Regions from separate parts of the Homo sapiens genome. Here region 2 is linked to region 1. Evidence: promoter capture Hi-C in 16 types of primary human blood cells and fetal thymus (Javierre and others, 2016). All regions are on one chromosome and are shown on one strand. The core of a region is centred on a gene start or on the middle of the fragment in contact, and the rest is flanking DNA. Distances in the headings are between cores, read along the strand shown.

Region 1 (7,498 bases), core at 1,584-4,083:
ATACAGATGGGGCCTCCCTGCATTGCCCATGCTGGAGTGCAGTGGCCATTTACAGGGGCAATCATAGTGCACTACAGCCTCTAATTCCTGGCATCAAGGGATCCTTCTGCTTCAGCCTCCCGAGTAGCTGGGTCTACAGGCATGTGCCACCATGCCCAGCTAATTTTTGTATTGCTAGTAGAGATGGGGTTTCACCATGTTGGCCAGGCTGGTCTGGAACTCCTTACCTTGTGATCCACCCGCCTCAGCCTCCCAAAGTGCTAGGATTACAGGTGTGAGCCACCACGCCCAGCCTTTATTTCTTTATTAAAATGTACTTTAACTGGCTGGTCGGGGTGGCTCACACCTGTAATCCCAGCACTTTGGAAGGCCGAAGCTGGTGGATCACGAGGTCAGGAGTTTAAGACCAGCTTGGCCAAGATGGGGAAACCCCATCTCTACTAAAACTACAAAAAAAATTAGCCAGGCACAGTGGTAGGCACCTGTAATCCCAGGTACTCGAGAGGCTGAGGCAGGAGAATCGCTTGAACCCGGGAGGCGGAGGTTGCAGTGAGCCGAAATCGCGCCACTGCACTCCAGCCTGGGCTACAGAATATCTAAAGAAAAAAAAAAAAAGAAAAAAGAAAAAGAAATAAGGTACATTTGCAGAAGTATAATCACTAACTCTGTCAGATGTTATCTTATGTGTAAAAGAGGCAAGGATTAGTGTAATTTATCCTTTAAGGAATATAGTAACTCAGGCAGGAGACATGTGGGCCCATGTGCTCTATTCTGTTTTATCTTCAAAACTCTTTCCAGTCCTGTTTCTCACATCAGAAAAGGATAGAAATTCTGTTCTTTCCAACCCCACCACGTCAATCAAATGAAAATGTCCTGAGCCATGAATCCAGCTCCTGGAGTGAAGAATCTTTGTATCAAGAAAAATTCTGGCATTATTTTATGTTCTCAGCACTCAGTGGACTCTAAGAGGTCACCTGGTCCTTTCCTCAGCCCAGAGGATTCCGGCAGAAAAGCAGTAGCTCAGAGGTTTTACTCTGCAGCCCTGACTGGATTCAAATACCCTGTCTGTGTGTTAATAGGGGCATGACTTTTGGCTCAGAGACTTTGCGACTCTCTGAGCTTCAGTTTGGTCAATATAAAATGGAATTAGTAACAGTATCAAAGTTAATGTGAGGAGTGAGTGAAGCGATGACAAGGGCCCGTCATACTGTAAACTCAAACCATGGCTTCCTATTTCCCTATTCACGGTGGATGGGGAGATGTCTCCGTGCCAAGTTGACCCCCTCCCCAACTCCGCACACGCTGGTCCTTTTCCCCTAATCATCTCCCACCGCCTCCATCCCCCACTATCCTTTCCTGGGTAACTTCTTATTCTTCAGATCTTATTTTATTTTTTGAGAATTTTTATTATTTATTTACTTATTTATTTTTGAGATGGAGTCTGCTCTGTCACCCAGGCTGGAGTGTAGTGACACGATCTCGGCTCACTGCAACCTCAGCTCCCAGGTTCAGGCGATTCTCCTACCTCAGCCTCCTGAGTAGCTGGGATTACAGGCGCGCGCCACCATGCCCGGATTTTTGTATTTTTAGTAGAGACCAGGTTTCACCACATTGGTCAGGCTGGTCTCAAATTCCTGATCTCGTGATCCGCCGGCCTCAGCCTCCCAAAGTGCTGGGATTATAGGCGTGAGCCACCGCGATTGGCCTATTTTAATTTTTTAATTTTAATTTTTTTGAGACAGTCTTGCTCTGTCGCCCTGGCTGCAGTGCAGCGTCACGATCTCGGCTCACTGCAGCCTCCGCCTCCCGGGTTCAAGCGATTCTCGTGCCTCAGCCTACTGAGTAGCTGCGATTACAGGCGCGCGCCACCACGCCCGGCTAATTTTTGTATTTTTAGTAAAGACGGGGTTTCACCACGTCGGCCAGGCTGGTCTCGAACTCCTCACCTGAAGTGATCCACCCGCCTCGGCCTCTCAAAGTGCTGGGATTACAGGCTCGTGAGCCACTGCGCCTGGCCTTCAGATCTTAAACACCACTTCCTTGGTACAGCATTCAGAGACACCTCCATATTCCTCTCCCCTTACTAAAGGTTCCTTCTTACGGCACCCTGCATTTTTCCTTCATGACTTTATCACAGTTTGTAATTGTCTATTTATTTTAATTAATCTGTCTGTGTCCATAAACTGTGAGCTCCGCCGGGACCTTGTTTGCCCTGCTCTCTGCTATGTCCTCAATATCAACAGTGGACTAGGATCACAGCAGGCTTTCATCAAATATTTATGGGAAACAGTCCAGTCCATTCCTGAACTCGGGTTCAGAAAAGGATAGCGACCTGTCCAAAATCACACAGGTTAGCGGCAGACTTGATCCCGAGTCTCCTAACTGGCAACCCAAGACTCTATCCCCGGAACTGGCAAGAATCTTCCTGAACTACCCCGATAAAATTTTGAGTGCCAAAGAAAGTCCCAGAAAGGGAGTGAGTAGAGCAGTGTGGAGAGTAGGAGGAAAGTGATTTGACTTGGCCCCTCCTCTCTTGACGTTGAGCATACTGCAAACAGACACTATACGTGGCAGGGCGGCTACAGAGTGAACCAGCGACAGGGTAGCCATTAAAAGAGGCCAGGGAGCGGACAGAGGAGTAGAGGGCAGTACTGCGCAGTAGACTGCACAGGCGCAGTCGAGGAGCTCCGCTCCTTTCTCCTCAGCCCCGCCCCGCCCCATTTCTGCCGAATCACAGAAGTTCAAGAGCGGTCAGCTGATGCTACGCTGTGCGGTCACGTGACAACGGGGGCGAAGCGCAGGCGCAAGGAGCAAGCGCAGATTGTGGGCGGCTGTGTCAGCTGACCCAAGGGGCCTTCGAGGTGCCTTAGGCCGCTTGCCTTGCTCTCAGAATCGCTGCCGCCATGGCTAGTCAGTCTCAGGGGATTCAGCAGCTGCTGCAGGCCGAGAAGCGGGCAGCCGAGAAGGTGTCCGAGGCCCGCAAAAGTGAGTTTCAGGGTGGGGCTGCCCGGCGTGGCGCGAGTCGAAGAAAGACCGCTGGGCCTCAGGTGGTGGGTAGATTAGGCCCGAAAAACTGCGGGGTGCGGGCGTGCGTATAGTCGCGGAAGGTTGTGTGTTTCGAAGCTTTGAGGAGCTGAGGCTCTGGAAGGCTTGCGGATCGCCTGGAAGCCACGATGTGAGATGGTAAATTGGGCGTGGAAACAATAATGGGTTACCGTCCTTGGGGCCTGGAGGCATGTGAAATGGGCTCTCCAAACGGAGCTCTTTGTTCTTCTTCTCTCCCACTTAACCGCTCTGGGGTGGTCAGTCTCGGTGAAGGGAGCCAGCATCCACACAGTTGCTTGGTCTAGAAACCTGGAGTCCTGCTTGCCTCTTCTCCCTCCCTCATTTAGTCAGTCGCCAAGGCTTGCGTATCTTTCACTTTTTCCCCCATGTCTACTACCAGCGTCTTAGTCCAGGACACCAGTTTCTCTAAAGGTACTGTAGTTGTCTAAATCGTTGGCGTGTGTGCGTGTGTGTGTTTCTGATATGTGGCAAGCGCAGTGTGTGTGTGTTTCTAACATGTGGCAAGCGCAGTGTGTGTGTGTGTGTGTGTGTGTGTGTGTTTCTGTCTAATATGTGGCAAGCGCAGTGCCCAGTGCATCAGTTGTCTCCCCTAACGTGGCATTCAGTGTCGCAGTGAAGGAAGCAGGTATTGGGTCAGTTAATTAATTGCAGGAGAGATGAGGGCTGGAGTGGAGAAATGTAAGGTTGCTAAAGAATTTAACAGGTGAGTTTAATCTAGACTGGGGAGTGGAAGAACCCGTTCTGGTCCCCTCCAGTCAATCCATTCTCCTCTCTGCAATCAGTCATCCTTCTAAAATGCAAATATGTGACTTCCTGCTGGTAAGGAACAAAATAAATAAATAAGTGCAGATATGATTTCCCTACCGCCTTTGTAGTCAGACGTTTAGTTCCTGCAGAAGAAAGCTCAAATTCCTTAATGAAGTTGGGGAGGCTCTTGTGGGTCAGGCCTGGTGCTTTCCTCCAGCTATACTGAATCGTTGTGGTCCCTCAGAAGCAGCATGATGTCTTTCACCTGCAGGTTTTTGCACACGCTGTTTCTTCTGACGTGAGAAGCCTTTTCCAATTCTCCTCCCCTTTGTTCTCTGACCCTTAGTCTTCCATCAGACCTCAATTTAGGAAACACTTCTTCCCGGGAAGCCTTTCCTGACTCATGCTTGTCCCCCGGACTAGGCTTGGAGTCCCTCCCAAGTGCTGATTTCTGCCACTGCCGTGCAATAACCTGTTTGTTTATATGGCTCAGTCACTAGACTAAGCTTCTGGAGAACAGAAACTATGTCTCATTTAACTTTATGTATCCAGTTTCCCGTCTGGTGAGAAAGATGCTTCTATCCCTATTTTACAGATAGTAAAAATGAGGCTCAGAGAGAAATGATTTATCCATACCCTGGGAAGCAACATAGTTGGGACTCAGAAGCCTCTTTTTCCATGCAAGGCGAAGATACTGATCTTAGTAATTCCTTGGTGTTTCTCCTAGTATAGGAGTTATTCTATCTGACATCCAACTAGATTTCAAGCATGTCTCCTCTACTTGTGCAGTTAGGGGTTGTGTGGTACTTGGAAAGCTTTCTTTGAGGGTGTTGGGAATGAGAAGAAGCCTTTTGTTCTTGCTCCGGTGACTGGAAAGTTCTTTGTTCTTCCCAGAATATTTCCAGTCATGCCCTTGATAGTGTATTTCCAGAATGACTTCTCACAGTTTGTGTTCTGATGGCTCATCAGTAACAGAAGTTGTATCTGTCGGGAGGGATAGGAGAATAGATTGGGGAAGTGCAGGAAAAAATGCTTGGAATAGGTAAGAATAATTCTGAGTGCCCTAGCCAGGTAGGATTTATGTTTTATACCTTTATCCTGTCAAGCCTGGTGCAGGGTTTTGTATATGTCAGGTAGCTGTGAATTGGTTTTAAAAAGTATTAATTTGGCTGGGCGTGGTGGCTCACGCCTGTAATCCCAGCACTTTGGGAGGCTGAGGTGGGTGGATCACCTGAGATCAAGAGTTTGAGACCAGCCTGGGCAATATGGAGAAACTCCGTGTCTACTAAAAATACAAAAGTTAGCTGGGCGTGGTGGTGTGCGCGTGTAGTCCCAGCTACTTGGGAGGCTGAGACAGGAGAAACGCTTGAACCCAGGAGGCAGAGGTTGCAGTGAGCGGAGATCTGTCCCACAGCACTCCAGCCTTGGGGACAGAGGGAGACGCCGTCTCAAAAAAAAAAAAAAACAAAAAACAAACCAAAGTATTAGTTTATGGCTTACATACTTCTCAGATTTTTTTTTTTTTTTTTGAGACAGAGTCTCACTCTGTCACTCAGGCTAGAGTGCAGTGGCACCATCTTGGCTCACTGCATCCTCCACCTCCAGAGTTCGAGATTTTGTGCCTCAGGCTCCCAAGTAGCTGGGATTACAGGTGCCTACCACCATGCCCATCTCTACTAAAAATACAAAAACATATAAATTAATACATAAATAAAAAAATAAATTTTTGTATTTTTAGTAGAGACAGTGTTTTACTATGTCGGCCGGGTTCTTCTCAAACTCTCGGCCTCCCAAAGTGCTGGGATTACAGATATGAGCGACTGCGCCTTGCCTGTCTCAGAATTGTTAATAGTTAGGAACAGAGAGGTAGTCAGAAGAACTGCAGTTTGAAAATTTGCCTTTCTTGATTTATAATTATGGTTGATTTGCCCAGTTAAGAGTTGGGAAGAGGCAGTATATAAAATGATCCCATCCAGTTTTTTTAATGAAATCATTGAGTTGGACCTTAAATTTTTTTTATTATTTTTTATTTTATTTTATATATTTTGTTTATTTATTTTTTTGAGATGGATTCTCGCTCTGTCGCCCCCAGGCAGGAGGGCAGTGGCGTGATCTCGGCTCACTACAATCTCTGCCTCCCAGGTTCAAGCGATTCTTCTGCCTCAGCCGCCCGAGTAGCTGGGACTACAGGTGCCTGCCACCATGCCCGGCTAGTTTTTGTGTTTTTAGTAGAGACAGGGTTTCACCATAGTGGCCAGGTTGGTCTCGAACTCCTGACCTTGTGATCTGCTCACCTTGGCCTCTCAAAGTGCTGGGATTACAGGCGTGAGCCAGCGCGCCCGGCGTGGACCTTAAAATTTTAAAAAAGTTTGTGTTAATGGCATATTTCATTGGAGTGAAACAAAACACTGGCTCCCATATGTAAGGCCCAAGAAGAACAAGATTTAAGAGAAATACGATTTTCTGTTTAAATATTTTTGATTTTTAGAGGCCCCTGTCAAAATTGAATGTTGAAGATGTTTGCCAAAGGCAGTAAATGGTATTATCCTGAGTTATAAATGCAGGGAGCCATGGGAGTTGGGAGGTGATGTCTTGTGAAATCATGCGGAGCTACTGCATAATGTTCAGGCCATGAGTGTTATTTATAGATTGTTGGTTTCGAAAGTATCTTTAGCTTTGAAATACAGCCCATTATAGCTGATGGGAAGATAGCATGTGAAGGATTGGGGTACAGGTGGCCGAAGCAGACAGTAGTAGGCCAGAAATAATACTGGAGTGAATGTGGACTTGCAGAAATAGTTCTTGGAGTTTTGAGAGAGAGACCTGTTAATTGTTTCAGACTAGCATCAGGGAATGTTGATGTCATGGGGTCATTTCATTACAGGTCCAAAGTTCTGTTCTGAATCAGGATGTGGAAGGTTAAGTTCATTTTCACTCATTCGCGTGGACTCTAGACAGTTGGTATACAATGATGTACAGTGTTGTATAACAAAGCTTAATTTTAGATGCAGGATGTCTTTTGCTCTCAAATAAATAGGTTGATGGTCTAGAACCTCTCTTTTTTTTTTTTTATTGGTGAGCGGAGACTCAAAGCAGAGATTATATGTTGGCTGTCCTTGTGGTCTGTTTTCATGTAGACTCTGACCAAACCTAGAGATTTTTTCCAGCTGTATGTTAAGCCACTCACTTCTAGAAACCAAAATACCTGTGTCTCCTCTTCTCTCAGCCACTTGTGCAGTCTTACTGTCCAGTACTCCTCATTCAGCATTCCTTCTCAGTCACCACTGTCCTTACTTCCTTGTGACAGGGACTGCTTTTAGTTTCCAGTGTTACATTATATAGTTGGTTCATTAGTTACATTATATGTTGCTGTCCCTTGCGAGCTTATTAGCCTTCTTGCTAAGCATCTGAGTAGGGTTGCACCTTTAATCAGCAGCATACTTAAGGTGTTTACTTCTGGAGAAGAGTTCCCTAGATGGTTAATGTTACTCATTTTATGTTGGTTCTTAATAGTTGAGATTGAGAGAATATTCTGACACATTCTACAATTTTTTTCCATCTTTTTAATGGGCTGTAGTTACAGAAGGTATTCATTTTTGTCTTGTCACTTCCTAGTTAAGTACAGCCTATAGGAGGGAGGAACCTGTACTGTTTGTTAGCTCTGAATTCCCTCTTTCCCATGCAC
Region 2 (7,498 bases), core at 2,279-4,778, 200 kb before region 1:
ATCCCAGCTACTCGGGACGCTGAGGCAAGAGAATCGCTTGAACCCAGGAGGCAGAGGCTGTAGTGAGCCGAGATCGTGCCACTGCACTCCAGCCTGGCAATGAAGCAAGACTCTGTCTCAAAAAAAAAAAAAAAAAAAAGAACGTGTGATGTTTTGGGGACAGGACACCACTGTAGGGGGAGGGGTGTCAGTCTCACCTTCTCCCGAAGTCTCTCCTGACTCGGAATCCTGATGCCCATCGGGCTGCGGGTGTGGGTCCCACTCCAGGGGCGGCAGGTGCTGCTGGGCCAGGCGGAAGTCCTCTAGGAGCTCGGGGCTGGTGGCATTGGGAAAGAGTCTCTCTTCTTCCCAGCTTTGTGAACTACTTCTATCCACATCCCTCTTGTCCTCGGCCCAGGCCCAGCGCCGCCGCTGGGGGCCCTTCCCCAGGCCAGGCTCAGCCCAGCGGATCTCAGTCTCCGAGCTGGCCATTGGGGCTGGCCTGGGCTTCACCTGGGCCACTTCATCTTCAGGAGACAGAGCTGCTGCCAGGGGCCCCAGAGTCACCGCTGGTTCCTGTCAGCATCGGCCATCCTGCCTGTGCCCTGTCAGGGACACATTCAAGAGAGAACATTAATCAATCCTGATCCCCTCTTTTATTCGGAACAAGAAGTTACCAGCAGGAACTCTGGAATTAGCCCCAGTTCAACTCCTGGTTGTGTCCTCCCGAAGCTGTGTCACCTTGGGCAAGTCACTCTGCCTTCATTTTCTTCATCAATAAAGCTGGGATAATAATTCCTCTCTCTCTCCAGGGTTTTTTTTTTTTTTTTTTTTTTTGAGACACAGTCTCACTCTGTTGCCCAGGCTGGAGTGCAGTGGCACAATCTCGGCTCACTGCAACCTCCGTCTCCCAGGTTCAAGCAATTCTCCTGCCTCAGCCTCCTGAGTAGCTGGGACTACAGGTGCACGCCACCACACCCGGCTAATTTTTGTATTTTTTAGTTTCACTGTATTGGCGAGGCTGGTCTCGAACTCCTGACCTTGTGATCCACCCGCCTTGGCCTCCCAAAGTGCTGGGATTACAGGTGTGAGCCACCATGCCCGGCCCCCTCCAGGGTTTTATAAACTAGATGAGACACAGGATGAGGAGCCCAGTGGCCAGTGCACCAACGAACAGGTGTTGAATGCATGCTAGCTAGTGTTACTGCGTACTGGCTCTTCGTGTGGGCATGGGGCACAGGCCCTGCTCATGGGAGAACTGATGGCCCAGGAGGAAGCAGACGATCACCAGGCAACTACAAATCCAGGTGAGATGTGCTGGAGGAGGCACGGGGGCTGCCCTGACACAGGCCAGGGAAGTCTGGTGATCCCAGTTTAGAAGCCGGTTCCTCCAAGAATCCTCTCTGACCTCACTGGGGTAAGAATTCAGATTGAGAGGTGGGGGAGGATGATGAAAAAAGCATTCCAGGCCAGGTAGGAGAGCTCACGCCTATAATCCCAGCACTTTGGGAGGCTGAGGCGAGTGGATCACTTGAGTCTAGGAGTTCGAGACCAGCCTGGGCAACATGGTAAAACCTTGTCTCTACGAAAAATTAGCCAGGTGTAATTGTGCACACCTGCAGTCCCAGCTACTCCAGAGGTCGAGGTGGGAGGATCACTTAAGCCCGGGAGGTCGAAGCTGCAGTGAGCCATGACAGCGCCACTGCACTCCAGCCTGGGCAACAAAGTGAGACCCTGTCTCAAAAGGAAAAAAAAAAAAAAAAAGGTAGCATTCCTGTACCCAACATAATTGAAAAACAGGTGCTCAAATGAAAAGGCATGAAGTCCCAACACATGCTACAGTATAGATGAACCTCAAAAACATTATGCTAAGTGAAAGATGCGACAAAGGTCACATATAGTGTGATTCTATGGATAGGAAATATCCAGGCAAGGTAACTCCTTGGAGAGTGAAAGCAGGCTGGTATTTGCCAGGGGCTGGGGGAGAGGAGAGCGGGCACTAAATGCTTGCTGGGTATGGGATTTCCTTCTGAAGTGATGAAAATGTTTTGCAACTAGATGGAGGTGGCAGTTACACAACACTGTGAATATACTAAATGTCACTGAACTGTTTACCTAAAAATGGTTAGTTTTATGTTATGTGAATTTCACCTCAATTTAAAGAAAACGCCTTCCGAGTGAGGAGTGAGGCGAGCTGGGGGCGGGGAGCAAGCCTACCAGGGGCTTTCCTGGACCTGGGAGTGGTTTCGCCGCCGATGGCTGGGGTATTGAACACAGGGAAAGCCCATCAGAGGTGTGGTTTAAAAGTTCCCCTTGGGCTGCTCTGGGAGAATGAACCAGGGAGGCTGGCCACACGGGGGACCCGTCAGGCGGCTGCTGCAGGAACAGGGTAGCCAGAGAAGGGCTCCTCCGCTGCCTTCCCTCAACCCTCTCCTTCTTTCCCTCTTTCCTTCTCCCTCTCATCTCCTTTTGCCTCTTCCTTCTGACGCTCCTGCTATTTCCCTAAGCGCTTCCTCTATGCCAGCACTGAGCCAGGCCCAGGAAGTGCAAAGCTGACCCAGAGTGGGCACGGTCCCCCAGGGAGCTCCCTGCCATGGAGGGTTCAGAGAACTGCAGCCCATCAGTGCAGCGGCCCCCAGAGCAGCTCACACAAAGGCCTTCTTCCACAGATGGGGAAACTGGGATCCAGAGAGGGGAGAGGCCTTGCCTAAAGCCACACAGGGGTCAGGACAAGGCAGGGGTGAAAGTCAGCCTCCTGGCCCACAGTCTGGGCTTTCTCCCCTGCATGCTGTGTTGAAGGCAGTATGACTCCAGGCCTCCCAGGACAGAAGGTCTGTGTTTGTCCCTTTATCCTCATGAACACTTGGATCCTGCTTGATTTGTGTGGCTGAGAAAAGTCAGCAGGCAACTATTTTTGGACACAAAGTTCCCCAGGGAACAGTGCAGCCCGGGAAAGGCTGACTTCTCAAGGGCTGGAGGAGGGAGGTGCAGGGAATACCATTCTTCCCTCCTTGGCTGCGACTCCTGCTCTGTGGATGGGTGTTCGGGGCTTCTATCCTCTGTCCCCGCCCAGTCTTCCTCTCTACCCCCAAATGCAGAGCCCTACAATTTCCTCCAGATCACCCTGTGTATTGTCCTCCAGCCCCACAGTCCCTACCACATGTGAAGAGCCCACTCGGCGCCAGCCTGGGTTGAAGCTTTACTTTTAAATTCTCAATCTGCCCTCCTACAAACATGAGGGTAGAATTTGGCTAAGATCACCCAGCTACTTCCTGCCACAGCAAGATTTGCAACTGTCAATTCTGGCCTAGTGGTACCCCAATATTTTTTTAATCACACAATCCATCAGTAAAAATATATTTGCTCGAACACATCACGCTAATATATTACATGTATTGGAAAGAGTATTTTCAAAAGTGATCTTCTAAAAAGATGCAATCGAAAATGGGCCAGGTACAGCGGCTCACACCTGCAATCCCAGCACTTTGGGAGGCCGAGGTGGGCAGATCACTTGAGCTCAGGAGTTTGAGACCAGCTTGGGCAACGTGGCAAAAGCCTGTCTCTACTAAAAATAAAAAGGAAAAAGAAAATATATACAGGTGACCCTTAATGACAGTTTGAACCACACAGGTCTACCTATATGTGAATTTTCTTCTGCCTCTGCCACCCCTAAGACAGTAGATCAATCTCCCCCTTAACTCCTCCTCCTCAATGTGAAGATGACAAGGATGTAGGCCTTTATGATGATCCACTTCCACTTAATGAAAGTAAGTAGATTTTCTCTTCCTTATGATTTCCTTAATAACATTTTCTTTTCTCTGGCTTACTTTATTGTAAGAAAACAGTACATAATACATATAAGACAGAAAATATGCATTAACCAACTGTTTATGTTATCAGCAAAGCTTCCAGTCAATAGCAGGCTATTGATAAAGTTTTGGGGGAGTTAAAAGTTATAAGCAGATTTTTGACTGCATGAGGCACTCCTAACCCCTGTATTATTCAAGGATCAACTGTATTTTATTTTATTGAGACAGGGTCTCACTGTTACCCAGGCTGGAGTACAATGGCAATCAGAGCTCACTGTAGCCTTGACCACCTGGGCTCAAGCGATCCTCCCACCTCGGCCTCCTGAGTAGCTAAGACCACAGGTATGCGCCACCATGCCTGGCTAATTTTAAAAATTTTTTTTTGTCGAGATGGGGTTTTGCCACGTTGCCCAGGCTGGTTTTGAACTCCTTGTTTCAAATGATCCTCCTGCCTCGGCCTCCCTATGTGCTGGGATTACAAGCATGAGCCACCCACCCAGCTGGTCAACTATATTTTAAATAGAAGCTCTAATCCTTGCTTCTCATACCTTCTGCAGGGCCTGTACCCTTCTTGGAAATCCCTGCCAGGGATCTTAAGCTTCAGTGTGCTTAAGAATCCTCTAAGCGTGCAGTTTCCTGAAACAACCTGCAGAGAGCCTGACTCAGTGGCCCTGGGATAGGGCCCAGGAATCTGCATTTTAAACCAGGGCCTCAGGCAGGGCCTGCCCTTTGAAGTTCACTAGGCCTCCTGGCTCCTGCTGTTATGGCAGGTGGAGAAGAGGCTACAATTTAGCTGTTGCTTTTCTGATTCTGAAGCCTCTGCTGAGGAAGGGGCCGGGGGAGGTGTGCGGTTTTTTGACTTTTTAAAGGGCTTTTTTTCTAGCTCTGCCACAGAGCAGCCTGCCCAATCACAGAGCCCTCTGGGTGCACAAAGAGGAACATCCTGTCTTCTGGGATGACTCAGTCGTGGCAGAAATCTCACTGTAACCAGGGGAAGGTGCACGTCAGAGGCAGCTGCAGTGACTGACTAGAGTTTCGCACTTGCCCCCAGGCGCCTAAACCAGTGAGCCTTTCCTGAGCCAGGCCTCTGCCTTCCATGCGAGCCATGGCCCTCCTCACCACAAAGCCCCAGAACTGGCCAGTCAGCTAGTCAGTCAACAAACACACGTTAGTGCCAACTACCTGCCAACCTCAGGCTGGGACGATGCTGTGATAGAGAAGCAGGCTGGGCATCAGGAGACAGGTGCTAGTCCTGGCTGCTGTTACTCACTGTGTATAGCTGGGCTTGCATTTTCCTCACTGTAAAATAGAGAAAGTACCACCTGCTCTTGATATCGCAAGGGGATATCACCCTGCTAGGGTGGGTTGGGAGGCAGGGTATGGGACTCAAAGAGCTTTGAAGTCCCTGATTGACTCAGCTTCTAAGGGCAACAGCCTCAGAACTGTTAACCTCTCTCCTCCTCCCTGAGGTCACATTTCAAAGTACAAAGATACATACTGAGCACCCAGTGGGCGCAAATTAACTTTTTAAAAAAGCCCTATGACTTCCTACTATATACCAGGCGCTACGTAAGATGCAAAGAATATAGAAAAGAGTAAAAGTGTTCCAAGATTTTAAACGGTGGGGGGTAGTACAATACAGAAGTGTTACCAAAGGAAGCTTTAAGGTGGGCTTGAGAAACAATGAGGATTTGGGGGAGAAGACTGGGGAGGGCATTCCAGGCAGCGGGAACAGCACGGAGGCAAAGGCACGTAGGTCTGAAAGTATGGCCTGACCTTGAAGGAGAGCTATGGGCAGGTGTCCCTGCATGCCAGATAAAGGCAGAGTTGTTCCAGCCAGCCCTCGTTAGGGCAGCAGGGCTGCTCCTAAAAGGCAGTGAGTGGGGTTTGGTGAAGACTCCAGCAGTGTGAGCTGGGGAGGGCTATGGAGTTCAGGGTCCCCGCCATCCCTGGAGAAACTGGCCCCACAAGGAAGTAGCAGCCACTGCACCCTCCTTCTGCACATCTCCTTCTTACACCCAAGCCGCCACTGCCCCTGCTCTCTCAAGGGTCTAACAGACCCCTGAGGTGTCTATCTTCAGTTCCTGGGTGGGATGGACTCTTCTTCCCCACCACCCACACAGGGCTTCTCCGCCCGCTCAGTCATTCCACAGCCAGGGACCCTTCCCTTTATGGCTCAATCCCTCAGAACTGCCCAGACGCCCAGGCTCTCCTTTGCCAGCACAGCTACGCAGCCCGCACAGCCTCCCCGTGCCCTCTGCAGCCCCTTCCCATCCAGCCAGAGCTGTCCAGGGTGCCACCCTGCTTCTACCCCCACCCACACCCTGACACCTCCCAGATGAAGACACTGAGGCACAGAGACATGGCCTGCTCTCACAAGACCTCACAGCCAGGAAGCGCAGACAGAGGATTCAAAGCTGGGGTACCGCAACTCTGAAACCAAGGCTGTCAGATGTGTCAGGGAGATGGGGAAGGAAGACCACCCCCCAAATCAGTAACCAGACCTTCCAAAAAGGCTCAACCATACCCCCACCCACCTGCTGGCAGGGCACAGACTTGCTGTTCTCAAGGGGTTCCCACCAGCTGTGTGGACTCTAGTCCCACAAGGAAGCACCAGCCACTCCCTCTCTGTGTCCTCCCTGCCCCCAGCCCGCTCCAGCAGCAGAGGCCGAGGAGAAAGAGAAACGGTGCCCTGGCTGTTGCCAGCTCTGGTCTTGCCATCCTCAAGAGCTGAGCTGGGTCTGCTGGTCCTCGGACTGTCCTTGGCTCCTCTCCTTGCTCTTACGCAGCTGGCATAAGGGGCCACTCCTTCAATAGGGACCACCCCCCGGCGCCGTCGCTGCCTCCTGGCCTGCTGCCCATGCCTGCATCGTCTCTGAGACCCCTTAGCAACCAAGGACACTAACTCTCCAGGTGCAGACGACGACACCCCAGGCACAGAGATGGACCCGCCTACCCAAGTTCACAAGAGATCAGAATCAGAGCTAGGACTGGAATCTAGCATCCTGAGGCTTGACGAAATCCTCCTTAAATCCACCCTTGCCCTGGAGGCCGGGATCCCCTAAGCCAAGAGAAAAGCGGTGCAGCTCCAGCAGCTGCAACTTCCTGGCTGGGCTGGTCCGGCTGCCTGGACTGTCCCGGAGAGTCTGTGACTGGCCCGTCCAGAAGGAAAGCGGCCTCCCGGGCCCTCCTCCGTTCCAATCCCTTACCTCTCTCGGGCTCCACCACCGTCCTGCCGACCCAGTTTCAGGGGACCTGCCTGTGAATTCTTTGTTCCAAACCCAGGGAGCCCCCTGTCTCCATTGCGCCCTGGCCCACCTCCAGGCCGTTCTGCCAGCCCAAGCTGCTGCTCACAGACCAGCATCGCTCCCCACCTCTCCCCGCCCCTGCCGTGGTTGAGGCCGCCTCGCCTCGGCAGGAAGCGCCCAGCCTGATTTCCTACAAGTGTTTGTCAGAAGGAGGGGGTTTGTCTGCGTGCAGAGCAAGAGCTGGAGGAGCTTAACCCCTTGCAAGCCCTCCGCAGTCAGCGCTGCCCAGGAAAGGACTCAGGGAACAAACTCCTGACGTCCTGGGCTTGGGATCATCTCAGCCCAGGCCCTGCAGGTACAGATGGGGAGACTAAAGCACAGAGAAGGTCAGAGGCTTGGCCAAGGTCACACAGCATGCTGTAGCTCCTACCCTCTAGGCCCTCTTCAACCACGGCCTGACCT

Evidence for each region. The method cuts DNA at HindIII sites, captures the fragments that hold promoters and counts their contacts. A CHiCAGO score of 5 or more calls a contact.
Region 2: a fragment that was not itself captured here is called in contact with the fragment with the promoter of ATP6V1G1 in region 1 in 6 of 17 cell types (fetal thymus, naive CD4 T cells, total B cells and 3 more); the score reaches 11.6 in fetal thymus.

Annotation. Positions count from the first base shown.
Region 1 is chr9:114,584,936-114,592,433 of GRCh38, forward strand. ATP6V1G1 (ATPase H+ transporting V1 subunit G1) reads left to right here and starts at 2,834. Exons shown (of 3, transcript NM_004888.4): 1 at 2,834-2,985. The coding sequence starts at 2,904. RefSeq lists enhancers at 1,293-2,112, 2,113-2,931, 2,570-2,649, 2,760-3,269. The HindIII fragment of the contact is 7,256 bases long and covers 1-3,121 here.
Region 2 is chr9:114,380,863-114,388,360 of GRCh38, forward strand. AKNA (AT-hook transcription factor) reads right to left here and starts at 7,120. Exons shown (of 22, transcript NM_001317950.2): 1 at 6,998-7,120; 2 at 198-584. The coding sequence starts at 471. LOC124902253 (a long non-coding RNA gene) reads left to right here and starts at 7,188. Exons shown (of 3, transcript XR_007061742.1): 1 at 7,188-7,391. RefSeq lists enhancers at 729-1,710, 1,845-2,660, 4,693-4,762, 4,783-4,832, 4,953-5,012 and 4 more. The HindIII fragment of the contact is 708 bases long and covers 3,175-3,882 here.